2 separate regions of the Homo sapiens genome follow, and region 2 is linked to region 1. Evidence: promoter capture Hi-C in human tissues and cell types (Jung and others, 2019). All regions are on one chromosome and are shown on one strand. The core of a region is centred on a gene start or on the middle of the fragment in contact, and the rest is flanking DNA. Distances in the headings are between cores, read along the strand shown. Region 1 holds the start of SMARCB1 (SWI/SNF related BAF chromatin remodeling complex subunit B1). Region 2 holds the start of LOC124905088 (a long non-coding RNA gene).

Region 1 (6,701 bases), core at 2,685-5,184:
ATAGTATATATTTTGCATTTTTAAATTTATTTTTAATTTTTATTATTATTTTTGAGACAGGGTCTCGCTCTGTCACCCAGGCTCGATTGCAGTGGTGCGATCGATCATAGCTCACTGCAGCCTCGAACTCCTCGGCTCAAGCGATCCTCCTGCCTCAGCCTCCTGAGTAGCTGGGACTATAGTTGCTTGCCACCACAACCGGCTAATTTTTGTATTTTTTGTAGAGACGGAGTTTCACCATGTTGCCCAGGCTGGTCTCAAACTCCTGGGCTCAAGCGATCTGCCCACCTCGGCCTCCCAAAGTGCTGGGATTACGGGTGTGAGCCACATACCCGGCCTAATTAAAAAAAATAAAAATAAAAATCTGTAGAGACAAGAGTCTCACTATGTTGCCCAGGCTGGTCTTAAACTCCTGGGTTCAAGTGATTCTCCTGCCTGGGCCTCCCAAAGTGCTAGGATTATAGGTGTGAGACCCAGGCATAGTATTAAATAAAATGTTTCTCCATTTTCAGCAGTGACTGTAATCAACAACCAGGGCTACTGAACGCTGAGAGAAGAGCAGACACAGCAAGTCACTCGCTTTCCACATAGAGGGCACAGACCCCTCTATGTTATTTGGCTTGTGTGTCAGTATCATCCAGTATCATGGTAAATGTAGAGTTTCCATTAGGTTTTTTAAAAGAAATTGACAATACTCCCCCCTATGACTACCTTGCAGGCCCTGCAGGGCTCTGAGTCTCCTAGATGCCCCCCAAAGCCCCTTCAGAACTTAGGAAACTGGGCTTGCCTTCCTGGCTTTCCTCTGAACCAGCCTTCACCCTCTTGGGACCCAGGTTTCCTGAATATAAAATCAAGGTGCTGGACTTGGGGATCTGTTAGGGTCCTCAAAGCTCCATGACTCCGGCTTGGTAAATACAGCTGTCTGTTAATGGCAGAACAGTGACACACACTCTTAGTAAATGCAGATGCCTTCCCAAGACAGCTCCACAGATGGCGCATGGAGGCACTGGGTATGTTGCTATGGCTGGCCCACCTCTCTGAATACAGTGCCTGTTTTCCACAGGGCAGTGGGCTGAGACCGTCCATCCACTACTATCACTGGAGCTACTGAATTTCAATAGAGCTCTGACCTTGAACTCTTCCCTAAACTCCGAAGGTCTGATGATTAAGTCAGGCCCAAAAGAACAAACTGCCTCTCCAACTGAGTCTCTTACAGCCTGGGTCTCAGGAAGATTATTCTTACTGGGAGGCCCAGGAGTCAAGGGGCTGAAAGACAAGACTGTAATTAGCTTTCTAGAAACTAAAATGTGTTTTGGGGAAGATCTTGGAGACCATCTAGTCTAAGCATCACATTATACACATGAGAAACACGACAGCAAGGCAGAGCAGGGCTGGAACCAGGCCTCCCAAGGTTCTTCCCACTTGGCCACGCACAGCTTCTCAATTTGCTCCAACTAATAAATGAAAGCTTTCTTTTGAAGTGTCACCTACTTAGAGCCAAACTGATTACTTTTACACCCATTAGATCAGGTAAACAACTCGCCTAGTATCACAGGCTGAAATTTGACACCTTTTGCATTCTGCAGTTAGGCAGGTGCCTACTGGCCAATGAGGACCATTCTGAACTGTGGCAGATGGACAGGCACTGGCTCTACCTCCCCAGCACTGGCATCTTTGAACAGTTGTAATTTAAGTGACAACGTGAAAATTTTATTGAATCCTATATTTTTTGTTTTATAAAAATTAGTGGAGGCCAGGCACAGTGGCTCACGCCTATAATCGAGCACTTTGGGAGGCCGAGGCGGGCAGATCACTTGAGCTCACAAGTTTAAGACCAGCCTGGACAATATGGTAAAACCCCATCTTTACTAAAAATATAAAAATTAGCCGGGTGTGGTGGTGTGTGCGTGTAGTCCCAGCTACTTGGGAGACTGAGGTGGGAGGACGGCTTGAGCCTGGGAGGCGGAGGTTGCAGTGAGCCGAGATTACACCACTACACTCCAGCCTGGGTGATAGAGTCAAACCTCGTCCAGAAAAAAAAAATGGTGGAAAATGCTAACACTAAAGTTCTGATGCTATTGACCTTAGTCTCATCCATGGGACTCAGTGTGACCATCTTGAGGCTTCATTCATTCATGCTATGCTCAATTGTGAAGGATAAAACCCACAAGTTTAAAAAGTATGAATGCGCTGAGTGTGAGTGCAGTAGCTCACACCTGTCATTCCAGCACTTTGAGAGGCTGAGGTGCAAGGATCACTTGAGCCCAGGAGTTCAAGACCAGCCTGGGCAACATGGCAAAACCCTGTCTCTACAAAAAATACAAAAATTAGTCGGGCACGGTGGTGCACACCTGTAGTCCCAGGTACTTGGGAGGCTGAGGCAGGAGGATCGCTTGAGCCCAGGAGGTCAAGGCTGCAGTGAGCCGAGATCACACCACTGCACAAAGTGAGATCTTTTTTCAAAAATAAAAGAAAATAAAGTACGAATAAAATGCTGGAATATGATACTAAAAACTGCTATAAGGAGAAGAAACTCTTGGCATTTCATGATAGCTTTAATTCTCCAGGATTGGCACTTACTTCCTTACATGAGATTCTACTGCTTGACATTTGTACATCTGAACTGTATATCCATAATTTTTTTAAAAAGGTAACATATACTAGCTGGGGACTGCCTTTGGAGCAAAAAAGGCTAGTTTGAGACAATCTGTAAAAACCTAATATATGGCCGGGTGTGGTGGCTCATGCCTGTAATCCTAGCACTTTGGGAGACCCAGACGGGCAGACTGCTTGAGCCCAGGAGTTGGAGACCTGCCTGCGCAACATAGCCAGACCCTGTCTCTATAAAAAACAAAAAACAAGAACCTAATAGACTTGGAACAAACACCCATTCAAAGGCCAGTAGAGTTTTCCTGAAGTCAGTCATCCAGTTGATGCAACAAAATGCAGCCACTCTAGTTAAGGGTTAAACATCCTTAGGCTCTTTCCCCTGTAATAATTCAGAATCAGTTCACAGATATGGAAAGTGTCAATCGCTTCAGAACTGCTGAAAGATCTAGCTTAGGCATGGGGCCCTTATTCACCCAAAAGCAAACATCTTCCTCCAATCTGTTTCTTCACCGGTAAACAAAGGTCAAAAGACCTCCACTGCTCACCTAAGAGGCAACAAACACAATGGGGATGAGCCCTCACTAAGTCCAGGGTTTCCAGCCTGCCATTTGAGGTTCCCACAAGTAGCAATACGGGGAGGGGTGCACGTGAAATTTACGACATCTAAAAAGGGTCAAAGGCAGCAGTGCAGTCCCCCAAGCGTCGCAGGGGCTAACTCAATATCCCGTTTCTTTGCGTCTGACTGGAAACCAACCCAGCGCGGAACCACTGGGGCCCCTCGCGGCGCCAAAATCTTGGCAGCACTGAAGGCGGCGGACCTCGGCGAAATAAGTAAGGAAATCCCAGGTCGATGAGGGGGCGGGGGCCACACCCGACACGCCCACTAGGCCACGCCCCACAGCCCCGAGCGCGCGCGCGCGCGCCCGCCCGCCCCGATGAATGGAGACGCGCGCTCTCGGCGCATGGGCCCGCCCCGGGGCTCCCGCGGGGCCGAGCCCGGGGAGGGCGAGAACGCGCCCCGGGCTACCTCGGAGCCGATCATGTAGAACTCGCCGTCGTCCTCCAGCTGGAACTTCACGGGCTTCTGCCCGAAGGTCTTGCTCAGCGCCATCATCATCATTGCGGCGGCAGAGGCGGGCGGCCGGAGCCGGGCTGCGAGGGATCAGGAGGGCTGGGGCGGGGCCGGGGCGTGCTGGGCCGAGGGAAACCGAAGCCGGAAGGCGAAATGCGGACCGGGCCGGGTACTGGCGCCTCAGCCGGGCTCCTCAGCCGCCGCCGCCGCCGCAGACGACGACCAGGCCGCCCTCAGTGCGCAGGCGCTGGCGTTGACGCTGACGCGCGCGCCGCCGCTCAAACAAAAGGCCGGGCGCGCCTCCGCGGACCCCTTAAAGGAGCCACGACTAATTTCTCTTTCTCCCAGGCTGCCTCCCAAGTCGTGGTGTAGAGGACTTCTCACGGACAAAAATAGCCAATGAGGTCCTGACTCAAGCAGTGGCTTTCCCAGTCTTACAGCCAGGACTGGAACTGAGCCCAGGGGAAAAGCAACGAAGTGAGGCCTGAAGGAGGAGGACCTAGTATCTGGAAGCCTGGGTGGTCTGGGCATGCTTTGGGACCCCAATCTCGTGCCTTAGCTTCCCCACCCCTAAAACGCAGTGCAGCTGAGCAGATAGGCAGGCCCCTAGGAAGAGATATCCCAGTTCCGGGCCTACGGCTGTCCCTGCAGCTGTGGAGGTGGGCAAAATGACAACAGCGGATGAGGCTTGGCAATGTTCAAAGGCCCAGGTGGTATTTGGTTTGGCTGGTGCATCAGATGAGCGTTGGAAGGGAGAGACACCTTCCACCTTCTCCATTCCTCTCTTAGCCTACACTCTGCTTAACCGAGCCCTGCAGTGGGGAGTGAAACCAGGCAGCCCAGCCCTGTGGCTCTGCCTCTTGGCTCTTACAGCGCGAAGCTAGTGAAACTAATGAAAGTCTGAAAGCAATCATGATTGAATAATGCAGGGAGTAAAACAGTGGCCCACTACTGATGATTTCACACCGTTCAATCTAATGAAATTGCAGCTGTGGCTGGGCTCAGCGGCTCATGCCTGTAATCCCAACTCTTTTTTTTTTTTTTGAGGCTGGAGTCTCCTGCCTCAGCCTCCCAAGTAGCTGGGACTACAGGCACCCGCCACCACGCCCAGCTAATTTTTTGTATTTTTAGTAGAGACAGGGTTTCACCATGTTAGCCAGGATGGTCTCGATCTCCTGACCTCGTGATCCGCCCCCCTCGGCCTCCCAAAGTGCTGGGATTACAGGTGTGAGCCACTGCGCCCGGCCTTGTAATCCCAACTCTTTAGGAGGCCAAGGCAGGGAGGATCACTTGAAGCCAGGAGTTTGAGACCAGACTGGACAAGACAGCAAGACCCTGTCTCTACAAAAATTCTAAAATAAATAAGCTGGGTGTGGCATGGCGGTGTGCACCTGTAGCCCCAGCTACTTGGGAAGTGGAGAGGGGAAGATCCCTTGAGCCCAGGAGTTCAAGGTTATAGTGAGCTGATTGCACCACTGCACTGCAGCCTGGGCAACAAAGGGAGACCCTGCCTCTCTTAAAAAAAAAAAAAATGCAACTATGCTATTACGAAGACACACATGGGGCTGGAAGGTAGGGCAAGGAGACACTGGAGAGTTGGGAAGGGCAGTGACTGAAGTTGCTTTGTTCTGTATCCTCACAGTGGTGGGAAACCAAAGTACAGTCATCCCTCAGTATCCATGGGAATTGGTTCCAGGACCCCCTGCAGATAATAAAGTCCACAGATGCTCAAGTCCATTATATAAAATGGTGTCATACTTGCATATAACCTACACACACTTTCCTGTATACCTTAAATCATCTCTAGATTCCTTATACTACCTAATACAATGCAAATGTTATATAAATAGTTGTTATACTATTGTTTAGGGAACAATGATAGGGAAAAAAGTCCGTACATGTTCAGTACAGAGGTAACCATCCCTTATTTATTTATTTATTTATTTATTTATTTACTTATTTTATTGAGACAGAGTCTTGCTCTGTCGTCCAGGCTGGAGTGCAGTGGCATGATCTGGGCTCACTGCAAGCACCGCCTCCTGGGTTCACGCCATTCTCCTGCCTCAGCCTTCCGAGTAGCTGGGACTACAGGCGCCCGCCACCACGCCTGGCTAATTTTTTGTATTTTTAGTAGAGACGGGGTTTCATGGTGTTAGCCAGGATGGTCTCGATCTCCCGACCTCGTGATCTGCTGGCCTCAGCCTCCCAAAGTGCTGGGATTACAGGCATGAGCCACTGCACCCAGCCTATTTATTTACTTTATTATTTTTTTAGACGGAATTTTGCTCTTGTCACCCAGGCTGGAGTGCAATGGCACTATCTCAGCTCACTGTAACCTCTGCCTCCACGTTCAAGTGATTCTCCTGCCTCAGCCTCCCAAGTAGCTGGGATTACAGGCATGAGCCACCACACCCAACTAATTTTTGTATATTTAGTAGAGATGGGTTTTCACCATGTTGGCCAGACTGGTCTCAAACTTCTGACCTCAGGTGATCCACACACCTCGGCCTCCCAAAGAACTGGGATTACAGGCACGAGCCACTGCGCCCGTCCGCATCCTTTTTTTAAACATTGTTTTTTCTACCCGAGGTTAGTTGAGCCTACGGATGCAGAAACCACAGCTATGTATGGCAGGCTGGGCTGTGGCATGAGCAGATAAACCACCACTCTGGAGGATGAACAGAGGGGACAAGTAGGAAAGTGGGGAGCCAGTTAAGAAGCCACTGTAGCAAAATGTGATGTAGAAATGGAGCAGAAGGAGCCCTGAGCACTGTGCCCAGCCCCAAGGGCCAGAGGCTTGGGGGTGGTGGACTTCGACCCTGGCTCCCAGGATAGGGCTGGACAGTGGCCAGGCCTCCCCATCCTGGCTGAACATTCACAAAAGGAGACCAAGCAGGCAGGTAGAAAACAACTGTGTTTAATGACAATCCTCAGTTTAAAAAAAAAAAAAGAAGAAGAAGGTTTATACACACTGTACACACATTTACAATGGCTTTGGAGGATAGCAGTGCTGCGAAAA
Region 2 (6,185 bases), core at 2,818-5,317, 53 kb after region 1:
GGTGGAGGTTGCAATGAGCAGAGATTGTGCCACTGCACTCCAGCCTGGGTGACAGAGCAAGACTCCATCTCAAAAAAAAAAAAAAAAAAAGAAAAAGAAAAACTATGCTAAGTACCCTCTTTGCCTCTTTTAATATTTCTAGCTTAAACTTGTCTTTTCCAAATATTATAATTGAAGCCCCCTGCTTTTCTTGAATTTGCCTGGTAGAGTTTAGCTCAGCATTTTGTTTTTTAAATTTGTGTATATATTTTGCTATACATCTACATAAACAACAAATTGTTAGAGTTTGTTTTCTGGTTCTTTCTGTAATTTATTTTTGTACGAGAAGTTCTATCATTAATACTATTGAGCAAGGCATAATTTATTTTCATTTTAATATTTTAATATATATTAACTAATTTAACCTCAAAAAGCCATGCTCACCCCTCACTCCCATCTCTAGGAGTTATTAACCATATGTGGAGTGTCATTTCTGGATAGACTAGAGGTCTGCCATTGGGCCCACCTGTCTCTCTTCTTGTCACATTTGGGTTCAGTGCCAAGATCTGCCCTGAGCCCATTCCTCAAGTTACAGCCTCTGACTTCAGGGTCCTAAGCTATAACATGGGGGAATGATGACACTCACAGCCTTGGGGGCCTCAGTGGTATAAGGAATGCAAACATGCTTAGCAAACTATCAGGTGCAGTTGATTATTACACTATTAGTGTTTTGAAGTATTTCTTTCTTTCTTTTTTTTTTTTTTTGAGATGAAGTCTTGCTCTGTAGCCCAGGCTGGAGTGCAGTGGTGCGATCTCGGCTCACTGCAACCAGGATCAAGCGATTCTCCTGCCTCAGCCTCCAAAGTAGCTGAGATTACAGGCACGCGCCATTGCACCTGGCTAATTTTTTTTTTTTTTTTTTGGGGGACGGAGTCTCACTCTGTTGCCAGGCTAGAGTGCAGTGGCGTGATCTCAGCTCACTGCAACCTCCACCTCCCAGGTTCAAGCGATTCTCTTGCCTCGGCCTCCCAAGTAGCTGGGATAACAGCTGGGATAACAGGCATGCGCCACCATGCCCTGCTAATTTTGTATTTTTAGTAGAGGCATGGTTTCCCCATGTTCGCCAGGCCGGTCTCTATCTCCTGACCTCAGGTGATCCACCAGCCTCAGCCTCCCAAAGTGCTGGGATTACAGACATGAGCCACTGCGCCTGGGCCTCCTATGAGTCTTTAATGCCAAGGATGCTTCCTCAGGATAAAGGCTTATGTCCATTTCAGTGTCGACTGTCAGGGACTCAGCTGCAGACTCTTTTGACTCATCTGCTTTTTATTTGTTTTTAATTTTTTTGCAAGCCTTTATGCTGCTTTCCTGTCTTTCTCCTCTTCCTGAGTTCTCTTCCCCATACCTACAGCGTGGCCTCCGCACATACCAAGCTTGCAAGCTTGCTGTTTGCTGCAAAGAAACCTGGACTGACAATCTCTCTTCTGTCATCTGGGCAGCCAGACTGAGTGTCCCCTTCTACCTGGGTGCCTGTGTGCATGTCCTCTAACCCCTAACCCTTTGCAGCTTCTGTTTTTTTTTTTTTTCTTTTTTTCTTTTGTTTTTTTGGAGACAGAGTTTTGCTCTTGTTGCCCAGGCTGGAGTACAATGGCAAGATCTCGGCTCACCACAACCTCTGCCTCCCGGGTTCAAGCGATTCTCTTGCCTCAGCCTCCCAAGTAGCTGGGGTTATAGGCATGCGCCACCATGCCCAGCTTATTTTGTATTTTTATTAGAGACGGGGTTTCTCCGTGTTGGTCAGGCTGGTCTCAAACTCCCTACCTCAGGTGATCCACCCGCCTCGGCCTCCCAAAGTGCTGGGATTACAGGCGTGAGCCACCATGCCCGGCCAGCTTCTGTTTCTTTATGTATAAACAGTACTGTCATGAAGATGCAATGAGATGAATTTTAGCTCAGAGCCTGCCACCTGGTGACTTACCCATGTTAGGTATTGTGGTTACAGCCCTGCTGTCAAACCACTTCTCCAACTCTCTTTCTAGCCTCAATTCATCTGTCAAAGCATTTGGCCCCAGGATTTTGCTGCGTATTCAGAAGTACGACCTCACATCTGCAGAATGCCACTGGCTTTCACACGAGGCCTCCCAGAAAGGGATGCCAGGCCTCAGACACTAGCTGGTGGCTCTCAGGACTTGCCACTCCATTTTCGCATTTTTCAGGACCACATGGCATACAGTTGGTCTCACAGTCTTTCCTGTCTTCCCAGTGGTCAGCTGCAGCCCAGTTCTAGGGCTTCTGTGGGGGAAGACAGGAGAGGGCTTGGAGTCAGGACACTAAAATGTGTCAGACGAAGCTTTGCTTGCAAGGAGCTTACCACTTGGGTGGTGGAGAAGGCCCAGAAGGCACTACTACAGTGCTCCCAAATCAGGAAAAGATCGCTAAATGCCCGTACTACTCAGGATCACATGGGAGCCCAGAGTTGGACACCTGGATCAACTGGGAGCCTACCTGACATTGATGATGTTTGGCTAGAATACTGATGAATGAATGGGAGGTAGCAAGACCGACACTGAGGGAAGGGCATCCCAGGCACAGGGAAGAGCATTTAGGAAGGCTTGAAACAGTTGGATCCATTCTGGGAACTCCAAGTAATTCCATTCTTAAGTTGAGCCAGGGCTAGAAATCGTCAAACCACAACACATTCCAGCCATTGGTCTCTTTTTCTCCCTCTGTTCCATCCCATATAGCTCAATACTATAGCTAGATTTATCTTCCTTCCTTCCTTTCTTTCTTTTTTAAGATGGGGTTTTGGCCGGGAGCAGTGGCTCACACCTGTAATCCCAGCACTTTAGGAGGCCGAGGGGGGTGGATCACCTGAGGTCAGGAGTTTGAGACCAGCCTGACCAACATTGAGAAACCCCATCTTTACTAAAAATACAAAATTAGCTGGGCGTGGTGGCGCATGCCTGTAATCCCAGCTACTTGGGAGACTGAGGCAGGAGAATCGCTTGAACCTGGGAGGCAGAGGTTGCAGTGAGCCCGGACCATGCCATTGCACTCCAGCCTGGGCAACAAGAGCGAAACTCCGTCTAAAAATAAATAAATAAATAAAAATAAAATAAAATAAATTTGGCTCTTCTGATTTTAAAATTGACTGGGGCTCCCTATGACCTAAAGGACCAAGATCAAACTCCCTCTCTTGACATTCAAAGCTCTTCACAGCCTTCCCCCAAACTCTTTCCACGTCTCCTCCCTACCTTTTGTTATAGTTATAGCCACTTGGATGACTTCCTGTTCTTCAAGCAGGCCAGTCACCCTTTTTGTCCAGACTTCTCCCTCTGCCTGCAATGTTCTTTTCCCCTTCTTCCTTGGGCAAATTCCCCCTATCTTCCAAGACCCAATGCAGAGGACAGGTTTACTAGAAGCCCCTTCAGGGTACTCCCAGTGCCTAGAATCCAGCCTGTCATTTTGGTTGAATAATTAATCAGATCAAGAACATCTTCCCTGAGTTCCCAACAGAGACGCCCCCCCACACGCCCTCGTGCTCCCTGCACTCCTCCTCCATGCTATGTTGGAACTTCTTGAAGTCAGGCTTCATTTCTTTTCTGTTTCCTTCCTTGCTTCCTTCCTTTCTTTCTTTTTTTTTTTTTTTTGAGACAGAGTCTCACTCTGTCGCCCAGGCTGGAGTGCAGTGGCACGATCTCGGCTCACTGCAACCTCCGCCTCCCAGGTTCAAGCGATTCTCCTGCCTCAGCCTCCTGTGTAGCTACGACTACAGGCGCCCACCACCACACCCAGCAGTGGGAGGCTGCAGTGAGCTGTGATGGCACCACTGCACTCCAGCCTGGGTAACAGAGCAAGACCCTGTCCCTAAAAGAAAAAAGAAATGTTTGAAACTTACATTTTATTAACAGCAAAGATAAAGAAGCTCAACTCAAGGAAGAATGAATAACCCCTACCAAGTGATTTGGGAGCAATGACAGATTTTGTTAACTAAAGCAAACTCCAGCAGTAAGGACATGACACACCAAATCCCCAAAAGGGTCAAAGCTCTGGGTCACAGATAAAATCTTCCAGAGCAGTCGTTCTCAGACTGTCATTCTTGGCCATCATAATTATTGCCCAGGAACTTGCTAGAAATGCAAACTTTCGGCTGGTCGTGGTGGCTGACACCTGTAATCCTAGCACTTTGCGACGCCGAGGCAGGCGGATCACCTGAGGTCGGGAGTTCGAGACCAGCCTGACCAACATGGAGAAACCCCATCTCTAATAAAAATACAAAAAAATTAGCTGGGCGTGGTGGCACACACCTGTAGTCCCAGCTACTCAGGAGGCTGAGGCAGAAGAATTGCTTGAACCCGGGAGACGGAGGTTGCAGTGAGCCGAGATCGCACCACTGCACTCCAGCCTAGTGACAATGAGACTTCATATCCAAAAAAAAAAAAAAAAAAAAAGCAAACTTTCAGGACCCACCGGCTTACCAAATAAGCTACTGAGCAGGGCCCAGCCTAGTGCCATTACTTTTAATGACAAAACCCACAATTACTTTTGCACTGATACAATAGTAACATCAAGGATCACCGGTCATAGATCAGCATGACAAATATTATTACAGTAATAATAGGCTGAGCACGCTGACTCATGCCTGTAATCCCAGCACTTTGGGAGGCCAAGGTGGGTGGATCACCTGAGGTCAGGAGTTTGAGACCAGCCTGACCAACGTTGTGAGACCCCGTCTCTACTAAAAATACAAAAAAATTAGCCAAGTGTGGTGGCGGGCCTCTGTAATACCAGCTACTTGGGAGGCTGAGGCAAGGGAATCACTTGAACCCGGGATGTGGAGGTTGCAGTGAGCCAAGGTTGCACCATTGCACTCCAGCCTGGGCAACAAGAGCAAAACTACATCTCAAGGAAAAAAAAAAGACCCCCAAAAGGTCTAGCCAAGATCAAAATAACTGAAACCTTTTTGTGGACCAGAAATAAGCAAAACTGTTGATTGGGGTGGACACCCGGACCTGCATGGGGCCAAGGGAGGCCCTGGTGACTGGATGCTTCTCTATTGTGAGGCAGCTGGCGGTAAAAGCCCTGGTGTGGACAACCTCCTTGGAGATGAACAGACCCTGCAACCCAGCAGCTCCAACCCTAGGACACACCTGGAGAAATCTCACACAAGCCACTACTGCAGTGTACTGCTGGAGTGTACATGGCAGCATTGATTGAACAAGTGAAAAATGAAAACAGCCTAAATGCTCAACAGGAAAAGGATAGTGGTGAATCCACACCATGGAACATACTCCAGCAGTTAATATGGATGAGCTGGAACTTCAGGTATTGGCTGGGCGCCAGTTGCTCACACCTGTAATCCCAGCACTTTGGGAGGCTGAGGTGGGAGGATTGCTTGAGCCCAGGAGTTCGGGACCAGACTGGCCAACATGGCGAAACCTTGTCTCTACTGAAAATACAAAAATTAGCTGGGCATGGTGGTGCACGCCTATAGTCCCAGCTACTTGGGAGGCAAAGGCTGCAGAATTGCAGACCACAGGCATTCAGAGAAATAAACAAAGTAATTTGTTTCTTTTTTCTTTTTATTTTGAGAGAGAGTCTCACTCTGGTGCCCAGGCTGGAGTGAAGCGGTGCGATCATAGCTCTCTGCAGCCTCAAACACCTGGGGTCAAACGATCCTCCTACCTCAGCCTCCAAGGTGGCTGGGACTATGTGCACATGCCACCCGGCTGATTTTAACAACTTTTTTTTTTTTTTTTTTGAGACACAGTCTCACTCTGTTGCCAGGCTGGAGTGCAGTGGTGCGATCTCAGCTTACTGCAACCTCTGCCTCCTGGGTTCAAGAAATTCCCCGCCTCAGCCTCCCCAGTAGCTGGGATTACAGGCGTGCACCACGCCTGTAGGGACAGGGTTTCACCATGTTGCCCAGGATGGTCTCGATCTCCTGACCTCGTGATCCGCCCGCCTTGGCCTCCCAAAATGTTGGGATTACAGGCATAAGCCACTGCGCCTGACCTTTAACGACATTTTTATTATAGATGGGGCCCCACTCTGTTGCCCAGGCTTCTCTCAAACTCCTAGGCTCAAGTGATCCTCCAGACTTGGCCTCCCAAAGTGCTGGGATTACAGGCGTGAGCCACCATATCTGCTCAGTGGTAATTTCAGATTATGCCAAATTTCAAAGATTAATCAGGGAGATGTGAGAA

The links. Contacts are between HindIII fragments. The study calls those that stand out against the background at their distance.
Region 2: a fragment that was not itself captured here is called in contact with the fragment with the promoter of SMARCB1 in region 1 in 1 of the 25 tissues and cell types used here (spleen).

Annotation. Positions count from the first base shown.
Region 1 is chr22:23,784,199-23,790,899 of GRCh38, reverse strand. SMARCB1 (SWI/SNF related BAF chromatin remodeling complex subunit B1) reads right to left here and starts at 3,934. Exons shown (of 9, transcript NM_003073.5): 1 at 3,638-3,934. The coding sequence starts at 3,730. MMP11 (matrix metallopeptidase 11) reads right to left here. Exons shown (of 8, transcript NM_005940.5): 8 at 6,584-6,701. The HindIII fragment of the contact is 20,978 bases long and covers 1-6,701 here.
Region 2 is chr22:23,732,253-23,738,437 of GRCh38, reverse strand. LOC124905088 (a long non-coding RNA gene) reads left to right here and starts at 4,836. Exons shown (of 2, transcript XR_007068020.1): 1 at 4,836-5,304. The HindIII fragment of the contact is 4,384 bases long and covers 1,876-6,185 here.